Linked DNA regions of Homo sapiens: regions 1, 2 and 3 are each linked to region 4. The links are contacts of gene promoters, found by promoter capture Hi-C in human tissues and cell types (Jung and others, 2019). All regions are on one chromosome and are shown on one strand. Each heading gives the region's core, a stretch centred on a gene start or on the middle of the fragment in contact. The rest is flanking DNA. Distances are from core to core; before and after follow the strand shown. Region 1 overlaps PDE12 (phosphodiesterase 12). Region 2 holds the start of ARF4 (ARF GTPase 4). Region 3 overlaps KCTD6 (potassium channel tetramerization domain containing 6). Region 4 holds the start of FLNB (filamin B).

Region 1 (3,090 bases), core at 445-2,944, 450 kb after region 4:
CACCAGTGCCCTCCAAGCCTGGGTGACAAAGCCAGACCCTGTCTCAAAAAAGAAAAAAAAAGTGTTTATATTATCCAGTATAAGAAAGCCAACTAAATAAAGCCTATCCATTTCCCCTACTGAACCATCTTCAATATATAAGGAACACAAATGGTATGAAACTAGCACAAATGCAACCTAGGAATACTTCAATACACTAAAAAAAAAGTACATCAATACTTCATGATAACATCATTAAAGTGAATTACTGGGCAAAATGGACTGTGTTATATAAATGCTTTGACATACATTCATTACATAAATTGGACAGAAGATAGAGATGAATAATTCAGTTTTCTGTGAAATTTTGCGGGGAAATTTTAAATTATGAGTAAAAATCTAACACTGACAGTATGAACATGGATTTTTGACAACCCAGAATTTGCTAGCATAGCAGATAGGTGAACAGATTTACTATATTTAAGATTATTTTGCCATTTATATATAAAATTAAAATTTAGGCCGGGTACCGTGGCTCATGCCTGTAATCCCAGCACTTTCAGAGGCTGAGGCAGGCAGATCACTTGAGTTCAGGAGTTCAAGACCAGCCTGGCCAATATGGTGAAACCCTGTCTCTACTAAAAATACAAAAATTACAAGCAGTACTGTATGGTTATTTTGAAGTTAGTGCTAAGAAGAAAAATAAAATCACGAAGTTAATACAGCTCTAGTATTTTTAACATTTAAAAAAGTACTTTCATATAAAGTGAGAACACAGAACTTATATATTACCCATGTCAGTTAAAGCTGTTAAAAATTGTCCTCCCTACCCCCTACAACATGAAATCTAGAGTGGTTTTTTGAAGACAGGGTCTTGCTCTATTACCCAGGCTGGAGTGCAGCGCACCTTGATCACAACTCACTGCAGGCTTGACCTCATGGGCTCAAGTGATCCTCTGGCCTCAGCCTCCTGAGCAGCTGGGACTACAGGCATGCACCACCATGCCTGGTTAATTTTATTTTTTGCAGAGATAGGGTCTCACAATGTTGCCAAGGCTGGTCTTGAACTCCTCAGCTCAAGTGATCCTCCTGCCTCAGCCTCCCAAAATGTTGTGATTACAGTCAAGAGCCACTATGCCTGGCCCTCTAGATAGTGTTGCCTTCCTGTACTATATTAAGCAAATTATTAAAATTCTCAAAACACTGAAATATTTTTTATTTGTGTTTAAAAAATTCATTTTCAGGGCTGGGGGAGGGATAGCATTAGGAGAAATACCTAATGTAAATGACGAGTTAACGGGTGCAGCAAACCAACATGGCACATGTATACCTATGTAACAAATCTGCACGTTGGGCACATGTACACTAGAACTTAAAGTATAATAATAAAAAAAGAAAAAAAGAAAGTTAGTTTTCAGTTATGGAAGGTTGGGCTTGTAATCTCAACTACTTGGGACGCTGAGGCAGGAGGATCATTTGAGCCCCGCAGTTTGAGGCTGTAGTAAGTTATGACTGCACCACTGCACTCCAGCCTGGGTAACAGTGAGACTCTATCTCTTAAAAAAATTATGCTGAGAATATTTTCTGAGTTGTCACATGGGTCTTGTGATAAACTAATAATGCAAACTTTTATTTTTCATTATATATAAATATTGGATTTATCCCAACCAAACTAGTTTGCAGGGAACCTCTGCCTTTATTTCACGGCTGGAGAATGAGATACAAAAGATGTCAATTTCCATCGTAAGAACTTTCCACAGTAGTGTTCTTTGGACATTCTCTCCCTTGTATTAGGCTCCTCAGAAATCTATCTCCAGACTGAAACCAGCACATTCTGATGAGATCATAGCTTAGTACTCAGAAAAATCACTACTCAGTGGAATTCTTGAAATTTTGAAACAACTGATTTTAGCATACAGAATTTCAAAAAGAACATACATTACAGCCAGAAACGATTGTTTGCTCATGAATTTTGATTATTGGCAGACACATTTGCTGTAGCGGCAACTGTGCAAGAGTTCATTTTAACAGAATAATATGTTCTGAAATACTCTTTTATAATCAATATAAAATTCTAGAATGTTAATTCCTATAGCAAGAACTTGTGACATTATAAAATGTGGTTTACCATAGAAAGTCGCTAGATTTCCCATGTTTTCTTAAAATTAAATGTACTAAAAAATCCAAATGTAATAGAAAAATGCAATCACATAGGTGCTTTAAACAGACATTTCTGAATAACACTGCATTCTAACTCATGAGTACAAAGAAATGTGTATGCTATTTATACATTTTCTTAGTGTTCCCTACCTTTGGACTCCAATCATTTTAACGTATCCGTATACTGGAGATTTGATCACAGTATATGGCACTTCACAATAACATTCCATGTCCTAATAATGTGAAATGCCTGTATACAATCTGAGTATATTGTTTAGTCAGAAAACATCAAAATTAAGGATATAGGACATGGAATGTCTGTTAAGTGCTGAGTTTTTCTGACTAGAGTTTAATCTAGCCAGTGTTAATGTGGAAGCTGTATGCTTTTTTCATGGGCATGTTCGAATTTTTTCTTTCAAAATGTTTCTCAACTTTTTGATGTGACACTTTGTTTTCTCCCAAGTCACTCTAAGGGTTCTATCAACATCTTTCTTTGAAAACAGCCCAAAAACATATTTTTAAAATGAAAAAAAAATTCACAAGAGAATCAAGATTTGGTTTTAATCTATTATTTACATATTTGTAAACTGCTGTTAAAATGCTCTCAAAAATGTTATTTAGGAAGGCACAATTTGGTAGCATCAATTTTTTATTTATAGTTTTTTCTAAACAAGATCCGAAGAAACTTCCACTTTAATTTTCCCCTTGGAGTACTTAAAGTACTTCAAGGTTCAATGTCAAATGCAGATAAAACCCCTTCATTTTCAAACTTACTAAGTGTTAACAATACATTTGATAGTGAGCAGAATATGAAAGTACAGATGTTATCAAAAGAGGAAATTCTTATGATACTAGGTTCAGAGATTAAAGAATTTGAAACAAGGGCTTTCATGACTGGGGAAAATCAAAGCTTTTCTTGAAGGGAGTGGGCTTTTAATACTCGAGCTATTA
Region 2 (3,237 bases), core at 259-2,758, 410 kb after region 4:
CTCCAATGCAAAGGAGGGTACTTCTGAGTAAAGAAGTTTTTGGGGTTTTTTTGTTGTTGTTGTTTGTTTTTTTAAGACAGTCTCGCTCTGTCGCCCAGGCTGGAGTGCAGGGGCGCGATCTCCGCTCACTGCAACCTCCGCCTCCCGGGTTCACGCCATTCTTCTGCCTCAGCCTCCGGAGTAGCTGGGAGTATAGGCACCCGCCACCACGCCCGGTTAATTTATTCTATTTTTAGTAGAGACTGGGTTTCACCGTGTTAGCCAGGATGGTCTCGATCTCCTGACCTCGTAATCTGCCCGCCTCGGCCTCCCAAAGTGCTGGGATTACAGGCATGAGCCACTATGCCCGGCCAGAAGTTTTTGCTTTTAATTGCCCAGGGCCACTCCTAAGAAATAACAGTCTCTGAAGGGTAGATAAGGTAGTGCTACCAAGAGAAGCGTTACTCAGCAAGCCTTCAAAAATATAAAAATAACTTACTGTTTCTGAAAGTTTGCAAGTTTTTCTTATTCAACCCCATCCTATGGAAATATACCAGTTGGAATAAGCAACTACAGAACCACATAGGACGGCACTACTAGAAAAATAGATTAAATCTTTATCCTGGCAATGAGTCTAATACATTTATCATTGCTGTGAATTTTAAAAGGTGTAGCAGGCCGGGCGCGGTGAGTCACCGCGCCAGGCCCGATCATAAACACTTTTAAAGTGAAGAGGCTTTCCGCTTCCTCAACATAAGGAGTAAATCTTTAATGCTGCTTCTAGGAAAAAAAGTACAAGAAAAGCAAGACTTCCTCCTTGCCTTCTCTTTAAAAAGCAACAGCCGATGAACACGTGTTGGAGCGCTCTCGCCTTGACAGAATTAGAGATCTTCAGAATCACTTGGCGTGGTGGTCGAAGCGTCTAGCCCTAGCTCATTAGGGTGCCACAGTTTCTCGGCCCACAAGTCAGCTTTTAACCACTTTTCTCCGCAAAAGACCGGACCGGTCTTCATGCGTCAACTAAAGCAAGCGTCTGGTCCCGTGTGTGAAACGTGTAAGTTCATGGCATCAGGGAATACCCATCGCGCGTACCGTAATAGAAGAGGGCGAGGTTCCTCACCTAACCCATAATGCTCAGCTCGCCTTTCCGGAAGCAAGGACTATCACCCCGACAATACCTTCATCCGGGCGGAAGCGTCTCACCCTGAGTCTGATTTGGCAGTGACGAAGCGAGGTATTGTGGGACTTTGTCCGTCTCCCAGTACGCATGTGCCTCAGCCGGCCTCTCCCGGCTCCTGGGGCCACGTCCGGGCGGTGGCGCCGTCGAGAGATGCTCGTCAGCGAAACTGGCCAATCCCCTGCAGGCGCAAGCGCAGTGGCTCGGGCGCACCGGAAGCGCAGGGGGATGGGGCGGCGGTGACGCGATTCTGTCCGCGTTGGAGGGGCCGGGCCGCTGCTGGAGTCGCCGCGGCCGCCGCGTGACGTGGCACAGCCAGAGCCTAAAGGCTAGAGCCGGAGCTGCCGCGCCAGTCGCCTAGCAGGTCCTCTACCGGCTTATTCCTGTGCCGGATCTTCATCGGCACAGGGGCCACTGAGACGTTTCTGCCTCCCTCTTTCTTCCTCCGCTCTTTCTCTTCCCTCTCGTTTAGTTTGCCTGGGAGCTTGAAAGGAGAAAGCACGGGGTCGCCCCAAACCCCTTCTGCTTCTGCCCATCACAAGTGCCACTACCGCCATGGGCCTCACTATCTCCTCCCTCTTCTCCCGACTATTTGGCAAGAAGCAGATGCGCATTTTGATGGGTGAGTGAGGGGCTGCGAGTCAGGCGGGACCTGGGAAAGGCAGGGTCTCCACAATTGGGGTGGCCTCTGGGCCTGTTTTTTTCCTCCGCCCGCTGTGGTGGGGGAGGGGCGCCGGGTCGGGGGTCGGAAGGAATTCTTAAGGGGGAACAATGGAGCGGAGGGTGAGCGATCCCCCCCGCCCCCGATCTGTCGCCAGACGAGACAGGGACAGGGCTTCGGGCAAGATTTCTTTCTGGACTCGGCTTTTTCTCCTTGATCTTATTGAAAGCTGGACAACATTGGGCAGAGATGTGGGGAAAGCCAACTCTGGGAAGCAAACACTTGGCGAGGCCCTTTCTGGGGGTGCGATCTGCATACCTTCTTGCCCGGGTGTGGACAGCGGTCAGGAGGGAGGCAGAGCAACTCCAGCCTTTTCCCTCCCCTTCTGCGTTTCGTGTACAGTCCCTGCATACTCCATTGGTATGTAAGCCAGCGGCCACCCGGAGCCTGGAGCCGCCCGGGGCAGGAAGTTGCGGTGGCCAGGGAGCACCCAAGGTTTCCGAAGAGTCTGGAGTCCTTCAGCGCTCACTTTGCTAAACTTGGCCTTGCGCTGGATTCCGTTTCAAGTTTTTCGCTCCTTGTTAATCTCATTCTCCGAAAACTGAGCTTATCTTCTATTTCTTTGACTATTTTCAAAAACTTTAAATGTGTTTGGTTTATTCTCCTAGGTTTTTAAGCTTATTTTTAGGCGGTCTAAGGTCTAATGCAAAAAAATTTTAGAAACGAATTTTTAAAAAATACCTGATAAATTTTCAAGTAACTGAACATCATGACGCTGAATTTTATGGTAGTCTTGTTAAATAGTAACTACAATTTTTTTAAAATTTCTTTTTAGAAAGTTGACTTTTTAAAAACTACTTTTTAGGGGGCGTGTTTTTGCTCAGCTGAGGGAGAAGGGCTGTCAGTTGGCTGAAGTAAGCAACCGCTCCCGGTTACTGTAAGCAGTCTACATCACAGCTGAGCTCCATGGACTAGAATAACGCTGAAAGAAGCCCCTCTAACTTTGAACGTTGAAACTTGTTGGTTCATTAGCTTGTTTTCTACCGGAGGAGGTTTTATTTTTCTCTTCCTTTTTTTTTTTTGCAGACGGAGTTTTGCTCTTGTCACCCAGGCTGGAGTGCAGTGGCGCAATCTCGGCTCACTGCAACCTCCACCTCCCGGGTTCAAGAGATTCTCCTGCCTCAGCCTCCCGAGTAGCTGGGATTACAGGCATGCAACACCACGCCTGGCTAATTTTTTGTATTATTAGTAGAGACGGGGGTTTCACCACGTTGGCCAGTCTGGTCTCGAACTCCTCACCTCAGGTGATCCACCCACCCAGGCTTCCCAGAGTGCTGGGATTACAGGCGTGAGCCACCGCGCCCGGCCGGAGGTTTTATTTTAGAGCTGTACTACCATCAAAACTTGCAAACACAAGCTT
Region 3 (3,029 bases), core at 24-2,523, 490 kb before region 4:
ATGGAGCTTTCCATCTATAATGGAAGGCAACATGCAATGACTGAAGTACAGAACAGAATTCAAAGTGCTGTATAACAGATGGACCAGCAGAGGCCCGTGAGAGGGGAAAAGCAAGATTTCAAATGGGAAATAGAGGACTTCTGGGAAGAGCCCATTCAGTTGAATCCTTGAAAGAAAATTCGGACAACCTGAGAAGGGATTCTAGAAGGAAGAAACAATTTAATAGACAGGGGCATGAAAGACTTTTTTTCCCCCTACAACATTCCTGATACCAGTAGGCCGAGCAGGGATTACTATCCTCATCTTAAAGATGCAAAACAGAGAAACAAGGCAGATTAAGTGACTAGCTGAGGGCGCCACAGCTGGGAAGTAACTAGATAAGAACTTGCATGTTCTGACTCTTAGTCTAGATTTTTCCATAAATCCCCTCCTAGGGTAGAAATTGAAAGAACAGAATCCAAGAGACAAGAAATTGAAAAAGCTTAACTTTAAACTCTCTATAGCCATCTATTAACCCTATCCATCCAGTAGGGTTTTATTTACAAATTTTACAGTAACTCAGCCTAACTAAACAGTCATAATGGGTTTGTAAAAATTCTCCTGAGGCCCCCCCACCAAAAAAAGGCAGGAACCCATTCAACTAGTGTGAATAACGGTTGCTGTCCTGTCTGTAGTGACATAAAGAACTCCAATCCGTGAATATCCAAATGATTAAATGAGAAACAGAAGATCAAAGACAAGGAAAAAAGCAGACATCAATGTTGCAGCCGTTAACGAAAAGTCTGTCCACTATTAACCCTTTTTTTCTTTTTTACTGCTAAATCAAAACAAGGTAACTTCTTGAGCAGTTATCTAAAAAAAAAAAAAAAAAAATTAGACGATGTCCCTGAATCTGTTCCACAGCAAAAGCAAAAGTTCCGGTACAAAGATGTAATGAAAGCTCACGCTTAATAATTCAGGAAAGCAATTATGGGAATCTACAGCCCATGTTTCTTAAAAACCACCCAAAAGCCTTCCTATACTTGTGTATAAGATACATCAAAATAAATTGAAGCAAAGTTACTATTAGTCACTTCCAATAACAATGAGTAAACTGTCTAAAGAAATCAAATTGTGCATTAAAGAGTTCAAAGGGAAAAAACAGTATTGATTAGTTTAAATTTTATCTCTACCTGCTTCTAAATATCTTCTGTGGAGATGCTTAAATACAGCAAGAAACAAACAAACAAAAAAAAAGCATGAAAAATTCCCTGTTATCCAATAGCTGGATAATGATCGGCTTCTGAATTCTGAATTGACGACCATTAGGAACATCTCTGAAACGATGCAGATGAATGAAATACAATCCCAAAGAATTTCCAGAATAGTTTCAATCTCTTCTACTGAATCATTTTCCAGAGCTACTAACAATTAGAAAATGATTCATTTGCTTTTCATCTTCTCTCCCTTCTGGCACAGTCTCCAGTGGAGGGCTTAATGAGAAGTTAAATGACCACAAGACAGGCAGCAGAAGGAAGATCTTGAAATGGGTATCAAATAGGCCTATTTTACTTGATGAAAGCAAAGAAATATCTAATATTTCAGAAAATCTACCAGGAATGGTAACAATAAAAAATTTTTCCTTTATAGTGACTTTCCTTACTAAAACTAAAGATGGTTTTGAAAGACAGCAAATGCAACCGAGCACAAACAGCTATAAAATTCAAAGAAGCCTCTGACCCTGAAAAATCAGTTCACCTGAAAAGATGTAACCTTTGATGCAAATAAAATTCTTGTGAAAACAACACTGCCCACTCCCCAAAGAATATAAAGCAGTGCTGAAAATTCAACCATGTTTAAGCTTCAAAGGTTATTGTGACTAATGTATAAATTCTGACAGTGTCATGTTAGCAGGTAATTAAGCTTAAGAAAACACATACTGAAGAATTTATAGAAACCTTAAAAGGAAGTATTAATTTTCTAAAGTAGCATATCTGAAGAAATGCATACATAATTCAGTAAGTTAATAACTTAAAAAAATAACCTAAGAACCCTTAAATGCCATTCTCCCTATCACTGCAGAATTGCAATTACAGGCCTAATGGTTATGATGAACTAACTTAACAAAAATATTCTGGGTTTATCATTCCTGCTATAGATTAAGAATTCTCCGGGGCAAAAGTCCTAATCCTATATAACTACCTATATGTTGCAATAAAAACCTCCAACGAATAATAAAAAACTCCAACTACTGACTTCCCAGAGTTTCCAGGCAGCCCTTTAAAAATGCTTTTTTACTGAAACCTTCGTGTCTGGTAGTCAGAAAAGACTCAATAAACTCCCTCTTTCTATACTTACCTTCAAAATTGCCTTGTATTGAGTTTTGCTCTTCTTGAAATGTGGGAGTTTGAAAGCGAAATACTTTTTATAGTAACTAGTTCAGCGACATCTAAAGGAGTCTTTGGGGTTAACATTCACATACAGGCCAGCATAAGTAGCCAGGCATACAAGGATAATGTGATTATGGTTAGATTATCCTTAACCATACCACTGCAGAAATGGATTTTTCTCTACAAGTAATCATTTTCTCTTTCTCCTTTCTCAACCATGTGGTCTAGAAGAGAGAAGCTATAGGTTTAAAAGTGACCTAATATTAAAAAGCTGTCACAAATAGTCACAAAATCATAACATTCCTCTTAACCCTCAGTTTCCGCAAGATAAAACGGGATAATACCACCTTCCCAAAACGGGGTAATTACACCATTTAGGCACAACACAAAGGCAAAAATTGGCCTATAAGAGTAACACATCAGGACAAGGAAAGAGAACAGGTTCCCAGGGAGGTCCTGTAGTTGAATTCTGCTCCGTTACTGATTATGAGACCCTGAGAAAATCACTCTTTATGCCCAGCTTCTTCTTTGGGGAAATGGAGAAAATAAGGGAGATCATGAATATAAAACCATCTGTAAACTAGCAAGTATTAGACAAATGTGAAAACATTAGTGGCAGCAGCATAAACAAAATTTCTAGGTTAACATGAGAAACTTGAG
Region 4 (3,275 bases), core at 282-2,781:
CCTACCATCACAGCCCACACTATCAGTAGCCTTGTGGCCCTCTGGGAAGCCTCCAACTATCTCAGACCACAAGGGAGACTTCATCCTTATTCTTCCTCCCCAGACCAGAAGGCCCAGTCCAGCAAGAGACACCAATTCCCTCCCTCCTTTCAGGAAGACCCTGGTGTAGGTTTGGGAGAGGAGAGGAAAACAAAGCCTCCTTCTAACTGTTGCCCACTTCCTTCAGTTCTCAGCTGGGCCCTACTTGCTGACCTTGGACAGGTCAATTAACCCTCCGGACCCCCTTATCTGTAAAATGGGTCTAGCCTCACCCCAGATGGCAGGATGCGTAGGGACGGAGATAACTTAGAAGGCTGACGGTACACAGTGGACGCTAGTTGGGCTCCCTACAAGACAGCAATTACTGTTACCACCACCATCTCTAAATTATAACTTCGGCAGCAAGGAGTGGGTTCAACCTGCGGCGCGCGGCCAGAGCTGAGCTGGGAGCAGAGAGAGCGAGGACACACACCCGCGCCTACCCTTGCAACCTCGGGGCCCACACCCATTCCAGCGACGGCAGGGGAAGGTACCAGGTCTCTGTCTCCACCTGGGCAGGGAGGCCCCAGGCGCAGAGAACGGTTCCTCCTCAGGTCTCACGGCCCGGCCTCCGAGCCAACGCCCATTCAGCTGCCTCTGAGAGCACCAACCTGGGCGCAGCAGGGAGAGCACTCCGCGGAGCATCTGACCCTAGGGCCCGCCCCCGGGGACAGCGAACGAGGGTTTCTAGTCCCCTAGCTCCCATAGGGGCGCCCCAGGTGTAGAGAAATGCAACAACTCCACCTCTCCTCCTGTGACCCCAGCCCAAACCCTCAACCCTTAGCCAGCCAAAGGTGCACTGCTGGGGCGGATGGCGGGGAGCGATCACAACAGGTCCCATCCCAGGGGAAGACACCGGGGAGGGGGTCTAGGCCCCCTATAACCCACCCCTGGGGACGACTCCCCCTTATCTCCGAGGTGGGGGCGCGCTGCGGGAAATCCTCGCCCTCCGCAGGGGTGCACGCGCGGGGGCGGGTCGGCACCACAGTGGGCGCCTGGGCCCGGCCAGAGAACTCACCGATGGACACGAGCTTGATGCTCTCACGGTCCAGGAACTCGAGCGCCACGGACACATTCTCGAGCTGCATCTGGCGAAAGGTGGGCCGCTGATGGTACTTGCGGTACATGCGCTTCTGGCTGAGCACCTCGAGCAGCGCGATGAGCCGCAGCCCGTCGCTCAGGTCGGTCTGCAGGTTGCCGATGCGTTTGTTCACGCACTTGAGGTGCTCGTTGCACCAGCGTGTGAACGTGTTCTGCTGGATCTTCTTCCAAGGCGCGTCCTCAGCTAGATCCTTCTCGGTTACCGGCATCCTGGTGGCGGGGAGAGCGCAATGCGCAACGAGCTGCCGGGGACTGGTGTTTGGAGGCCCAAGGGCCGAAGGAGCGAGAACCGAAGCGGAGCGGGAGCGGGGTTCGAACTTGCTGCTACCGGAGCCACGGCCGGTGCTGCTCTGCGGCCGCCCGCCCCTGGCCGCGCGAGGCGCCTGGCCCCGCGCCTGCGCGCTGAGCCGCCCCGCCCCCAAGCCCCGCCCCGTCCCGACCCTCCCGCGGGAGTTCCTGGGCCACGCTCGCCTCCTGCCGCCTGCCGCAGGCACTGCGCCCCACTGCGTCCTGGGACCCGCGCTCGAAGCCCACCACCCCAGCAGGATGTAGGGCTGCCTGAATCACCCGGTCAGCCCCGGGGTGGGGGGACCCGCGGGGGCTGGGAGCCGGACAGAATGGGTCGGGCCTCAGTGGGACTTGCGGGAGGGGCGCGCGGGGCGGAGGTCTTCATCCACATATAGATTGAATAAAATTCAGTAAGGGCTTTTATTGAGCTCCGCCTGTGTACCAGCCATTCTTCTCAGAGCCTGCTAACCAGTAGTAAATCAGACAAACGTATTGCACAACCTCAAGGAGTTCACACAGCCTAATGGAAGAGAAAAGTGTAATTCCACCATAACCAACAGCCCAGTAGTGGTGGTAAAAATGAACAATAAGGCTTGTTGCATGTCTTAGTTTCCAGTTACTGCTGTAACAAGTTACCAAAACTTAGTGTCTTTGAAAACACACACCCACAAATGTATTATCCTTCAGTTCTGTAGGTTCGATGGCCCACACAGGTCTTGCTGAGCTAAAAACAAAGTGTTGGCAGGATGCATTCCCTTCTGGAGGCTGTAGGGAAGAATCTGTTTCCTTGTGTTTTCTAACTTCCAGAAGCTGCCTGCGCGCCTGACTCCTGCCCCTTTTCTCTGTGAAAGCCTGCAATGGGCTGGGCACAATGGCTCACACCTGTAATCCCAGCACTTTGGGAGGCCAAGGTGGGTGGATCACCTGAGGTCAGGAGTTCGAGACCAGCCTGGCCAACATGGTAAAACCCCATCTCTACTTAAAATACAAAAATTAGCCAGGTGTGGTGGCGCGTACCTGTAATCCCAGCTACTGGGAAGGCTGAGATAGGAGAATCGCTTGAACCTGGGAGGCAGAGGTTACAGTGAGCTGAGATGGTGCCATTGCACTCCAGCCTGGGCGACAGAGCAAAACTCCGTCTCAAAAAAAAAAAAAAAAAAAAAAAAAACAGAAAAGCAAGCCTGCAATGTCAGGTGGAGTCTCTCAGACCTCAGACAGTCCTCTCTCCATAGGCACATCTTCCTTTTTTTTTTTTTTCCTGCGATGGAGTCTTACTCCGTTGCCCAGGCTAGAGTCCAGTGGTGCAATCTCGGCTCACTGCAACCTCCTCCTCCTGGGTTCAAGCAATTCTCTTGCCTCAACCTCCTGAGTGGCTGGGATTACAGGCACCCGCCACCACGCTCCGCTAATTTTTGTATTTTTAATAGAGACGGGCTTTCACCATGTTGGCCAGGCTGGTCTTGAACTCCTGACCTCAAGCGATCCACCAGCCTCTGCCTCCCAAAGTGATGGGATTACAGGCATGAGCCACCTTGCCCAGCCTTTTTTTTGTCTCACTCCGTCTCCCAAACTGGAGTGCTATGACTCAATCTCGGCTCCCTGCAGCTTCAACCTCCCCACACCTGGCCCTTTTAAGGACTCTTAAGATGACATTGGGCCAGCTGGTTAGTCCAACATGATCTCCCTATTTTAAAATCAGCCGATTAAGAACCCTAATCCTGTTTGCAACCTTAATTCCCCTTTGCCATTTAAGGGAATGTTCACAGGTCCTGAGAGTTAGGATGTGAACGTCTTTGGGGGCTATTACT

What was found. The method cuts DNA at HindIII sites, captures the fragments that hold promoters and counts their contacts. A contact is called where the count stands out against the background at its distance.
Region 1: a contact is called between a fragment that was not itself captured here and the fragment with the promoter of FLNB in region 4, in 1 of the 25 tissues and cell types used here (dorsolateral prefrontal cortex).
Region 2: a contact is called between the fragment with the promoter of ARF4 here and the fragment with the promoter of FLNB in region 4, in 1 of the 25 tissues and cell types used here (heart right ventricle).
Region 3: a contact is called between a fragment that was not itself captured here and the fragment with the promoter of FLNB in region 4, in 1 of the 25 tissues and cell types used here (hippocampus).

What each region holds. Positions count from the first base shown.
Region 1 is chr3:57,561,638-57,564,727 of GRCh38, reverse strand. It overlaps PDE12 (phosphodiesterase 12), which reads right to left. Exons shown (of 3, transcript NM_177966.7): 3 at 1-3,090. Among named protein-coding and RNA genes, the nearest start is that of PDE12, 6.9 kb to the right of the region's middle. The HindIII fragment of the contact is 8,870 bases long and covers 1-3,090 here.
Region 2 is chr3:57,595,615-57,598,851 of GRCh38, reverse strand. ARF4 (ARF GTPase 4) reads left to right here and starts at 1,508. Exons shown (of 6, transcript NM_001660.4): 1 at 1,508-1,778. The coding sequence starts at 1,712. It overlaps ARF4-AS1 (ARF4 antisense RNA 1), which reads right to left and starts at 1,063. Exons shown (of 2, transcript NR_132370.1): 1 at 801-1,063. It also overlaps a transcript of PDE12 not described here. RefSeq lists enhancers at 485-1,190, 705-1,264, 1,285-1,534, 1,545-1,614, 1,805-1,854 and 4 more. The HindIII fragment of the contact is 4,316 bases long and covers 1-2,864 here.
Region 3 is chr3:58,493,717-58,496,745 of GRCh38, reverse strand. All of the region lies in intron 1 of KCTD6 (potassium channel tetramerization domain containing 6), which reads right to left. Among named protein-coding and RNA genes, the nearest start is that of KCTD6, 3.1 kb to the right of the region's middle. The HindIII fragment of the contact is 5,212 bases long and covers 1-3,029 here.
Region 4 is chr3:58,006,678-58,009,952 of GRCh38, reverse strand. It overlaps FLNB (filamin B), which reads right to left and starts at 1,531. Exons shown (of 46, transcript NM_001457.4): 1 at 1,097-1,531. The coding sequence starts at 1,388. The HindIII fragment of the contact is 12,217 bases long and covers 1-3,275 here.